Linked DNA regions of Homo sapiens: region 1 is linked to region 2. The links are contacts of gene promoters, found by promoter capture Hi-C in human tissues and cell types (Jung and others, 2019). All regions are on one chromosome and are shown on one strand. The core of a region is centred on a gene start or on the middle of the fragment in contact, and the rest is flanking DNA. Distances in the headings are between cores, read along the strand shown.

Region 1 (5,389 bases), core at 775-3,274, 420 kb before region 2:
ATGAGCAGACACTTTTCAAAAGAAGACATACATAGGGCCAAAAGGCGTATGAAAAAAAGTTCAACATCACTAATCATCAGACAAATGCAAATCAAAACCACACTGAGGTACCATCTCATACCAGTCAGAACGGCTATTAATAAAACCGCAAAAAATAACAGCCGCTGGAGAAGTTGCACAGAAAAGGAAATGCTTATATACTGCTGGTGGGAGCGTAAATTAGTTCAGCCACTAGGGAAAACAGTTTGGCATTTTCTCAAAGTACTTAAAACAGGACTACCATTTAGCCCAGAAATCCCATTATTGGGTATATACCCAAAGGAACATAAATTGTTTTGCCCCAAAGACACGTGGACACATATGTTCACCTAGCACTATTCGTAACAGTAAAGACATGGAATCAACCTAAATGTCCATCAATGGTAGACTGGATAAAGAAAATGTGGTACGTATACATCATGGAATACTACATAGCCATTAAAAAAAAGGTCATGTCCTTTGCAGCAACATGGATGGGGCTGGAGGCCATTATCCTAAGCGAACTAATGCAGGAACAGAAAACTAAAGACTACGTGTTTTAACTTATAACTGGACACAAGGAAGGGAACAACAGACACTGAGGCGTACTTGAGGGTGGAGGGTGGGAGGAGAGTGGGGATCAAAACAAACTACCTATCAAGAAACCTGCTTATCACCTGGGTGACAAAATAATCTGTACACCAAACCTCTATGACACAAAATTTACCTACGTAACAAACCTGCATATGTACCCCTGAACCTAAATGTTTAATATTTTTAAAAATGCAAATTTAAAGGATTTGGTTTTCCTTTGTAATTGCATCGTCATGCAATACGTAGATGTCCACCTTCTTTGCTCCAGTACATTTGATAATTTATTGGCAGATACTCGATACCTTTTGGATGATCTGACTTAAAAGGGACATTGTTTTCAAGAGACAAAATATAATTTCACTATCCTTAGTTTTCCTATTTTCAGTTTCACTCTCTAAAACATGACATCTCCTGTAAGGGAAAAACTTTGTCTCCAGATGTATGAAAAGCATCCTTAATTACACTTTATCTAAAACAATGAGACAACTCCTGGACTTTCTCAGACTGGTTGGCTATTGTAGAATGTGGATTCCTTGTCTGAACCCCTAGAACGAGAATTAACCTCTATAACAGTATTGGATCCTTTTAAAAACCTCCCTTTCCTCTTCCCCCAGCTTGGGACTCCCCAACTACTCCTTGCCCTTCTGCCTATTCATTCATGAGAGAGAACATACTTTAGATGTCCTGTCTCAGAAATACAAAAGGAGCCTGAGGCCCATTGGATATTTTACCTTCTTGCTAGGCCCTATAGCTCAAGCCTTCCTTCCTTGCTTCTGAGTTGTCATGGCAACAGCAAATTTGATTCAAGCCACAGTTGATTTTGTGCTAGGTCATACTTCGCACACTTCTGTGCCCAAGTGGTTCACATCTTTGTCCTGACTGCGAACCCCCAACGTTTTTCAACCTCTAACCTTACCTCTTATGAGATCCTTTTGTTTGCTCCTTCTCACATTACTATTCACCATTACCAAAATCTTAACCTTGTTACCATTTCTCTCCCAACTGAAGTACAACCACCATGACTGTATTTCAGCCACCTAAGCTCTAACCTTTCCCCGTCCTGATCTTTCTGAAGTACCTCTTATAGATCCAGATCTCATTTTCTTTGTTGATAGTTCATACCTCTGACTTCAGAAAGAGGTTTCCAGGCTGAATATGCCATTGCATATATCCACAGTCCCATAACATATGAGGCTTTACCCAGTGCAAATTATATCAGATAGAATAATTTGTGGCTCTCACAAGAACCTACACTTTAGCTAAGAATCAAAGAGTTAACATCAACACAGATAACAGATATGTTTTTAGGGTATTACATGACTTTGACCTGTTGTGGAAAGCCAGGGAATTTGTGACTACTAGTTTAAAATGGGAAATGTGGGTAACCTCCTAGAGGCCTTATTATTACAAGAGCTGGCCATACTCAAGATAGAAGCTTATATGGGCAATAGACCCCTAAGGCAAGGGGAAGCTCAGCTGATAAGTATGCTAAGTAGCAGTTTATAAATCTGTCCCAGTCCCACTGTAATCAGACCAGATATTAAACCTACTCAGTTTGCCAATTTATCCTCTATTTGAGGACATTAAAATATCTCAGTTAAAGGCCCCTGAAGATGAAAAGGCTAATTGAAAACAAGGTGGATGTTTTACCCACCAAAAAGTCCAAAGATAGGCTTTGAAGACACTGAGAAGGCTACTTGGGCTCTCCTTCGTCCCTGACCTGAAGTTCAGTCTTCACAAAATTTTTCATCATGGGAAAATACTGACTCAATGCCTTCATCATCATTTGTGGGGAAACTTCACTCCTTACTTGGAATATCTGCCAACAACAGAATCCTGGAAAAGTTATAAAGGTAGAACGAGGAAGAGAGCCACCTCTAGCAGGACTCTTTCTCTATTGGCAAAGATATTTTATTCAACTTCCTAAGTCAGTGTTATTAATATGCCCTGGCCATTGTTTTTATGTTCACTTATTGACTAGAAGCTTTTCCACGTAAGAAGCCCACAGCTGCAACTGTTTGTTCTCTTAGAACAAATTTTCCCCTCCTGAGGAATTCTACTTGCCCTGTCAAGTGACCAGGGAACTCATCGCACCAGTAAAGTCATCCAAAAAAATCCAAGAGTTCTTCCTCTGTCCCCCAAATTACATGATCCTCACCATATCCAGTCATGCAGAATGATTGAACAAGCAAACAGACAAAACTAAAATTTTCAAAACGTTCTGAGGTGAGGCCAGGTGTGGTGGCTCATTCCTGTAATCCCAGAACTTTGGGAGGCTAAGGCAGGAGGATTACTTGAGACCAGCCTGGACAACTTAGTGAGACCGCATCTCTAGAGTAAAAATACATATTTATATTTTTAAAACTTTCAGAGAACTCAACCTTCCATGGCCCAAGGTCTTTCCCTTGGTCCTAATTGCTCTCTAGCCTTTCCTTGTTAGACCACACCTGCCCCCTCAAAAAACAATTACTAGCAGAACTATGAGAATTCCCTACTCTATAAGGGCAACAGAAGACTCCAGTGAAGTTAATTCAGACATGATTTCAGAATTCAACCTTGAATGCATGTCTCACAACTTAAAAAGTACAGGAGTTACTTACAATAAAAATCTACTTCACCTGGAGATCTTAAACCGGGGCTCTCCAGGATTATGGCTGCCTCTGCTGAGTCATGCAGGTTGTCAGAGAAGCAGGGGAAAGCCGGCAGTCACAGGCCTCCCCCAGATCCCACGCACACCGAAGGGCTGGTCTCACTCCCACCGTGTCCCCTGCAACACCTCTGAGTCTGTTTCCAGACAGAGGACGGGCTTGAAAACTTGCCCGAGGCTTTCCGCCTCCCACCTGTGAAAGAAAAGGGCTTTAGTTCTTCCCCCACCTGTGAAGTCTGCAAGCCAGATCCGCATCCTCCCCCAAGTTCCGGCCAGGAGGCTTCTCGCCCCACTCAAATTGTTACAAAATTCAGCTAGGGAAGTCCTTCTCCCGGTAGGGTTTTACCTCCTGCTCCTCTGGCCTCCCTCCTGATGAATCCCAGTGGTGCCAGGCAGGAATAGGCTACCTGGGGATTCAAAGAGCTCCCAGGGCCTCCCTGCTGCCTCCTCTGCCCCTGTATTTCGCTTGGTCCGGTTCTCTAACTTGACTCAGCTCCAGGTGAAGTCGGGAGCATCTCCCGGAAGCAGACCTTCAGCTTCTCCAGTAGGGGGTGTGTGTTCCGGAAAGGAGGGTCTCCCTTTCCCACTTCCGCAGTTGGGGCACTCACAGTATTTGGGGTGTCCCCCGGGTCCTGCAGGAGCAGTCTGCTTCTTTCAGAGGGTCTGTGGGCCCTCTCTCAAAATATTTTTTTAAATATTAAAAGCAGCTGCTGATAGGGTTTGTCCCCACCAAATACCATGTTAAAATTTGATCTCCAGCGTTCAAGGTGAGGCCCGGTGGGAAGTGTTTGGGTAATGAGGACAAATCCCTCCTCAATGGTTTGGTGCCTTCCCGTTGGTAATTAGTGAGTTCTTGTTCTATTACGTCACGTGAGAGCTGGGCTGGTTGTTTAAAAGAGCCTGGCATCTCTCTAGCTCACTTTCTCACCGTGTGACATGCCTGCTTCCCCTTCACCCTTCAACATGAGTAGAACCTTCCTGAGTCCCCTATCAGACATAGATACTAGTGACATGCTTCTTGTACAGTCTGCAGAATCATGAGCCAAACAAACCTCTCTTCTTTTTTTCTTTTTTTTTTTGAGATGGAGTCTCGCTCGGTAGCCAGGCTGCAGTGCAGTGATGCGATCTGGGCTCACTGCAACCTCCGCCTCCCAGGTCCAAGTGATTCTCCTGCCTCGGCCTCCGGAGTAGCTGGGACTACAGGCACGTGCCACCACGCCCAGCTAATTTTTTTATTTTTAGTAGAGACGAGTTTCACCATGTTGGCCAGGATGGTCTCAGTCTCTTGACCTCATGATCCGCCCGCCTCAGCCTCCCAAAGTGGGAGGCCCCTCTTTTCTTTATAAATTACCCAGCCTCAGGTATTCCTTTATATTAATAGTAATGCAAAACAGACTAACACAGATGGAGAAATGGATTCCAGCTTTACTTATTAGAAGCTATACCCTAAAATGCGTTGAGGGGGAATACCAGTAAGTACCAAGACAAAGAGCTCTCAGAGAACCCCCCAAAGATCCAAGCCTTGGAGTTACCCGTTTCCTAGAATACATGAAAGTGAGAAATACCAGGACTGGCTAAAAGTCTATATATGGAACAATGCCCAACCCACATACCCCACCTTGCACGGAAGATACACCTTTGTCAAGACCCTAGAGTTTTATTCTCTGGAGAAACTGAAATGAAGAGGGTCTGAACTTAGAGCATTAGGTACAGAGATCAGTTCGATTGGGGGATAACGTAAAATGGGGATAACGTCAAAGTCTGCAAAATGAACAGTGAAGCCCCATCCTTTTTCCCGCTCCCTGCCCCTAGAACATCAGGAGCCAGGTGTTGTTCTGAATTCAGGCAATTGGAAGAATAATCTATTAAAAAAAAATTCTGGGCCGGGCATGGTGGCGTAATCCCAGCACTTTGGGAGGCTGAGGTGGGCGGATCACAAGGTCAGGAGATCGAGACCATCCCGGCTAACATGGTGAAACCCCGCCTCTACTAAAAATACAAAAAAATTAGCCGGGCGTGGTGGCGGGCGCGCCTGTAATCCCAGCCACCTGGGAGGCTGAGGCAGGAGAATGGCGTGAACCCGGGAGGCGGAGCTTGTGGTGAGTAGAGATCTCGCAGCTGCACTCCAGC
Region 2 (5,346 bases), core at 2,847-5,346:
CAAGAAGGCCCTCACCAGATGCCAGCACCATGCTCTTGGATTTCCCAGCATCCAGAACTATGAGCTAAATAAATGTCTTTTTTAAAAAAATAAATTATGCATTCTGTGGTGTTCAGTTATAATCACAGAAAATGAACTAAGACAGGGGGCAAAGGGTTTCTGGGGCATCAGTCTGTAGCCTGTGGCACAACTCCAGGCACAGACCAGGAGTGAATCCTCATTCTTCTCAGCAGGGAAACCAACCCCCCTGGCATCGGCTTCAACATCCCCTTTTCTTCTCGCCCCCACATCCCCCAATCAGCTACAGGCTACATCTATCAGTTCTACTGTTTAAACATCTCTGCAATGTGTGTGTGCCCTTCGACCCTCTACAAAGGGAAACAACAGAAACAGTGGGAGAGTTTTAAGAAGTGTGAGAAGAGACATGATTGGATCCTTTTCACTGTGAATTATATCACCGATAGAAAACTGCCTAAGACATAAAATCTAGTGTCATGAATACAGTGAGTCCTTACTTAATGCTGTCAATAGGTGTTTGAAAACTGACTTTAGGCCGGGCGTGGTGGCTCACGCCTGTAATCCCAGCACTTTGGGAGGCCAAGGTGGGTGGATCACCTGAGGTCAGGAGTTTGAGACCAGCCTGGCCAGTGGCCAATGTGATGAAACTCCGTATCCACTAAAAAAAAAAAAAAAAAAAAAAAAAAAAATAGCTGGGTGAAGTGGCAGGCACCTGTAATCCCAGCTACTTGGGAGGCTGAGGCAGGAGAATCACTTGAACCCAGGAGGTGGAGGTTGCAGTGAGTCAAGATCGCGCCATTGCACTCCAGCCTGGGTGACAAGAGCAAAGTTCCATCTCAGAAAAAAAAAAAAAAAAAGAAGACTGACTTTAAATGAAATGACATATAAGGAAACCACCTTTTTTTCTCATCAACATTATAATGAAATGATGACATTGATTGAAACGATGTTATTTGAGGACCTGATGTATGTCCTTTCATTTCAGACTGCAGTTTCCAAGAACCTAAAAGGACATTAAGTGAGGACTTACTGTACTTATAAAGCCAACACCCATGTAACCATCACCTAGGTCAAGGGTGAGCACTGCCAGCATCCCAGAAGCAGACACTTGCCACCCGCAAGTGACAAGTGTGTTCTTCCTGTCTCCTTAGACTTTTATGATAAATACTTTTATTTTCCTTTGTAGTTTTGATACGGCTCTGATGACTGGAGGAACTCCAGGGTTCTTGGTCTTGCTCCAATAGGATTAACAACACGAACATACGTGGAGTAGTTTTAAGGAGTGAAAAGTTTAATAGGCAAGAAAGAAGGAAGGAAGAAGAGAATAGCCCCCCCATACAGAGACAGAGGGGGGGGATTTGAACAAAGAGAAAACCCCCTGTTTAGGGTGAGGGTGGTGGGAAGTAGCTGCTTATATGAGGAGGCTGAGGAGGTGGTGTCTGATTTCCATAGGGCCCAGGGGATTGGTTTGACCAGGTGTGTCATTTACAAACCCCGCAAAACACCTGGCCTTCCCACCTTAGTCCTTTAATATGCAAATGTGGGTCGCTATGATGTTCTGAACACAAGGTGTTATCTGGAGGTGGCCACGACACTCGGTACACCTGGTGACAGGGAAAAGACAGCAGGAATCTCCATATGAGTGAACCCAGTTTCTAATGGCCAGCATTTGCATGTCAAGGTTTGCCAGCCTGGCCCTTTAAGCAGCCTTTTCTGTTAGAAAAGAGATGGTTTGGGGGCTTGTTTTTTATTGCAGGAAAATTTCCACCAAGAACCTTTACCCTTACTATCTGCCTAAAAATTATTTCTTAATAATTCCTGTATTAGTTTTACTAAGTATCCATTTTACCTATGCATGCAGACCTCTCTAGGTTGCCGTGTGGCTGGAGAAAGGATGGAAGAGAGAAGGGGAAGGTTTTCAGCAGCCTTCTGCCTTCCAGGGATGGAGACTGGACCCTTGGGGATCTGGCCAGGATTCCCTGGGCCTGACCAGTTGGCCCAGGTTTGGTCTCCTCTATGCCAATGACTCCTCACGGGAAGCAAGACTTTCATGAGTGCCGGATTTCAGGGTGCCATTCACTGCTGCAGCCCTCCCAACTTCCCCTGAGAAGGAGCAGGAGAGGTCAATTTTCTCATTTCAGTTGGGAAAATGCAGTTAGAGAAAACGAGAGACATCCAAGGCAACAAGGTCAGTAAATAGGAAAGGATCAGCCCTTTGAACTTAGCTGTATCTGGCTCAGTCCAGTCTTCTTCTTCTTCTTCCTTCTTCTTCCCTCTTCCCTCTTCCCTCTTCCCTCCTCCTCCTCCTCCTCCTCTTCCTTCTCCTTCTTCTTCTTCTTCTGACACAGTCTCACTCTGTGCCCCAGGCTGGAGTGCAGCAGCATGATCTTGGTGCACAGCAACCTTCATCTCCTGGATTCAAGCGATTCTCCTGCCTCAACCTCCTGAGTAGCTGGGATTACAGGTGCCCACCACCACATCCGACTAAGTTTTGTAATTTTAGTAGAGATGGGGATTCATCATGTTGGCCAGGCTGGTCTCTAACTCCTGATCTGAGGTGATCCACCTGCCTTGGCTCCCAAAGTCCTAGGATTACAGCCATGAGCCACTGCACCCAGCCTAGTCTAGCATTTTTTGTTTTGTTTTGTTTTTTTGAGACAGAGTCTCGCTGTGTTGCTCAGGCTGGAGTGCAGTGGCACGATCTCAGCTCACTGCAACCTCCGCCTCCCGGGTTCAAGCGAGGCTCCTGCCTCAGCCTCCTGAGTAGCTGGGATTACAGGTGCGCACCACCATGCCTGGGTAATTTTTGTATTTTTAGTACAGACTACTAAAAATACAAAACTCCTGACCTCAGGTGATCCACCTACTTCAGCCTCCTTAGTCCCGTGTTTTTATCTCTCCCTGTAGCAGAGTCCTGCACCCCTTCCCTCTGCAACCGGTGAGCCTGGTGTCAGGAAGAGAATGGTTTCGTGGAGCTGAGTCCAGTGCCCTCAGGGTGCGGAGGTGTAGGAGCTTGAACTGGCCACACGGTGGTGCCAAACACCAGGTCTTCGCATTTATGTTTCCCAGCCCTTCTGGGCGTCCCTGATGCCCTCAATAAACTCTGCCTGGTTCCCAGGGCACAGGGCTAAGGGCCTCCAAAGGGGAGGGGAGGGGAGGGGAGGGGAGGGGATACCCACCCTTCCCCCAGCCAGACCTTGCAGGGGAGGCAGGAGCGGGGCTGCGGAGGGCGCCTCAACTTTACCCAAACCCACCCCGCCTTTCGTTCTCCGTCTTCCTTCTCTCCCAAGCCAGAAACCTGTCCCCTCTTGCCTTGGGCCACCATCGCAGGGCCTCCTGAAGGCAGATTCTGGGGAGGGGAGGGGGAACAGGGAAAGCAGAAAGGTGGCTGGATGGCAAAGGGCAGCTGTCACCCCGGCTGGCCTGGGGTCCTCGGGGACTTAGAGTCTGGGCCCAGCCCATGCCTCCCCTCCTTTTCCCCTTCAGTGGCCTCCAGGCCTCTCTCCACATCGCCAGGCTGGAGTGCAGTGGCGCTATCTTGGCTCACTGCAACCTCCGCCTCCCGGGTTCAAGCGATTCTCCTGCTTCAGCCTCCCGAGTAGCTGGAACTACAGGCGCCCGCCACCACCCCCGGCTAATTTTTGTATTTTTAGTAGAGATGGGGTTTCACCATATTAGCCAGGATGGTCTCGATCTCTTGACCTTGTGATCTGCCCGCCTCGGCCTCCCAAAGTGCTGGGATTACAGGCGTGAGTCACCGCGCCTGGTCCCCTGTCTTCTTTAAGAAAGCTCAGCGGACCTTTTTCCTTCTTGGGGTGGAACAAAAAGCCAAATCTAGCACAACCCTGGGCAGGGGCCCAGAATCACTGGAAGCAAAGGTGGATGGGATAGGAGGCGAGGCTGCCTGTGGACCACAGGCCCGGCCCGAGTGGCTCTGATGAGAAGCCGGGGCGCCTAGGTCACCGCCCCCACCGTCTGCCCTTCCCCCCACTCCTCCTGGCTGGGTAAATCCCAGAGTCTCAGCCGCCTAAGTGTCTTCCCCGGAGGTGAGATTATCTCCGCCTGTGCTGGACACCTCCCTTTCTCCTGCAGCCATGGATGCCGCTCTGCTCCTGAACGTGGAAGGGGTCAAGAAAACCATTCTGCACGGGGGCACGGGCGAGCTCCCAAACTTCATCACCGGATCCCGAGTGAGTGGGGCCCCTCCGGAGCAGACAGGGTCCCCCACAGCAGCTTTCAACATTCCAGGTGTGCCCCAAGGCACTGTAAACAGCTTTCAGCTGTGCCAAAAAAACAGCCAGGCAGCCCCAGCGCTGGGCCTCCGGGGAGCTCCCAGCGTTTACCCATTCAGGGGGCATTTTTGGTACTTTGCAGATTCAACTTTAGCATGGGCTGAGGGGAAGGGCTTTTGGGAATTTTCTGGGGCCCTAAATGTTGAGTGAGAAGAAAGGGAGTCCGAGGAGTCTTGGTATTTGTCCCCAAATGTCTGTTAGGCTTCCCTGGACTGAAGGGTGCGTCTGTGGCTACAGAATTCGGGCTTTGGCCAGGCGAGGCGGCTCCCGCCTGTAATCCCAGCACTTTGGGAGGCCAAGATGGGCAGATCATGAGGTCAAGAGTTCGAGACCAGCCTGACCAACATGTGAAACCCCATCTCTACTGAAAATACAAAAATTAGCCAGATGTGCTGGGCGCCTGTAATCCCAGTTCAGATACTCAGGAGACTGAGGCAGGAGAATCACTTGAGCCCAGGAGGTGGAGGTTGCAGTGAGCCGAGATCATACCACTGCACTCCAACCTGGGCAACAGAGTGAGACTCTGTCTCAGAAAAAAAAAAAAAAAAAAGAACTCGGGCTTACTTGAGGAAGGATTTCTGGACGCACAGGGCTGTGGGGAGTGGAATGGGGTCTGTAGGGAGGGGTGGGTCCCTCCTCCCTGGGGGGTGCAGGCAGGGTGGAGGTGCTCCAGGGGTCTGAGGCATCTGATGGGGTGAACTGAGTGAGCTGACCCTGGGGACAGCCCTGGGTGTCGGTGGCAAGGGGGTGGCTTCTGCCGGGCCTTGAACAGTGTGTCTAGAGCAGAGTGCACCGTCTCGGTGACTAGGTGATCTTTCATTTCCGCACCATGAAATGTGATGAGGAGCGGACAGTCATTGACGACAGTCGGCAGGTGGGCCAGCCCATGCACATCATCATCGGAAACATGTTCAAGCTCGAGGTCTGGGAGATCCTGCTTACCTCCATGCGGGTGCACGAGGTGGCCGAGTTCTGGTGCGACACCATCGTAAGTAGGCCCTGCGCGCCTGTCTCCTGGGACTAGTCTTTTCTGGGC

The links. Contacts are between HindIII fragments. The study calls those that stand out against the background at their distance.
Region 1: a contact is called between a fragment that was not itself captured here and the fragment with the promoter of AIPL1 in region 2, in 1 of the 25 tissues and cell types used here (stomach).

Annotation. Positions count from the first base shown.
Region 1 is chr17:6,852,277-6,857,665 of GRCh38, reverse strand. It overlaps the pseudogene ALOX12P2. Among named protein-coding and RNA genes, the nearest start is that of TEKT1, 23 kb to the right of the region's middle. RefSeq lists an enhancer at 2,689-3,888. The HindIII fragment of the contact is 5,362 bases long and covers 1-4,705 here.
Region 2 is chr17:6,433,871-6,439,216 of GRCh38, reverse strand. AIPL1 (AIP like 1 HSP90 co-chaperone) reads left to right here and starts at 4,096. Exons shown (of 6, transcript NM_014336.5): 1 at 4,096-4,208; 2 at 5,119-5,298. The coding sequence starts at 4,113. It overlaps LOC107985017 (a long non-coding RNA gene), which reads left to right. Exons shown (of 3, transcript XR_001752776.2): 3 at 1,880-1,919. The HindIII fragment of the contact is 7,871 bases long and covers 1,252-5,346 here.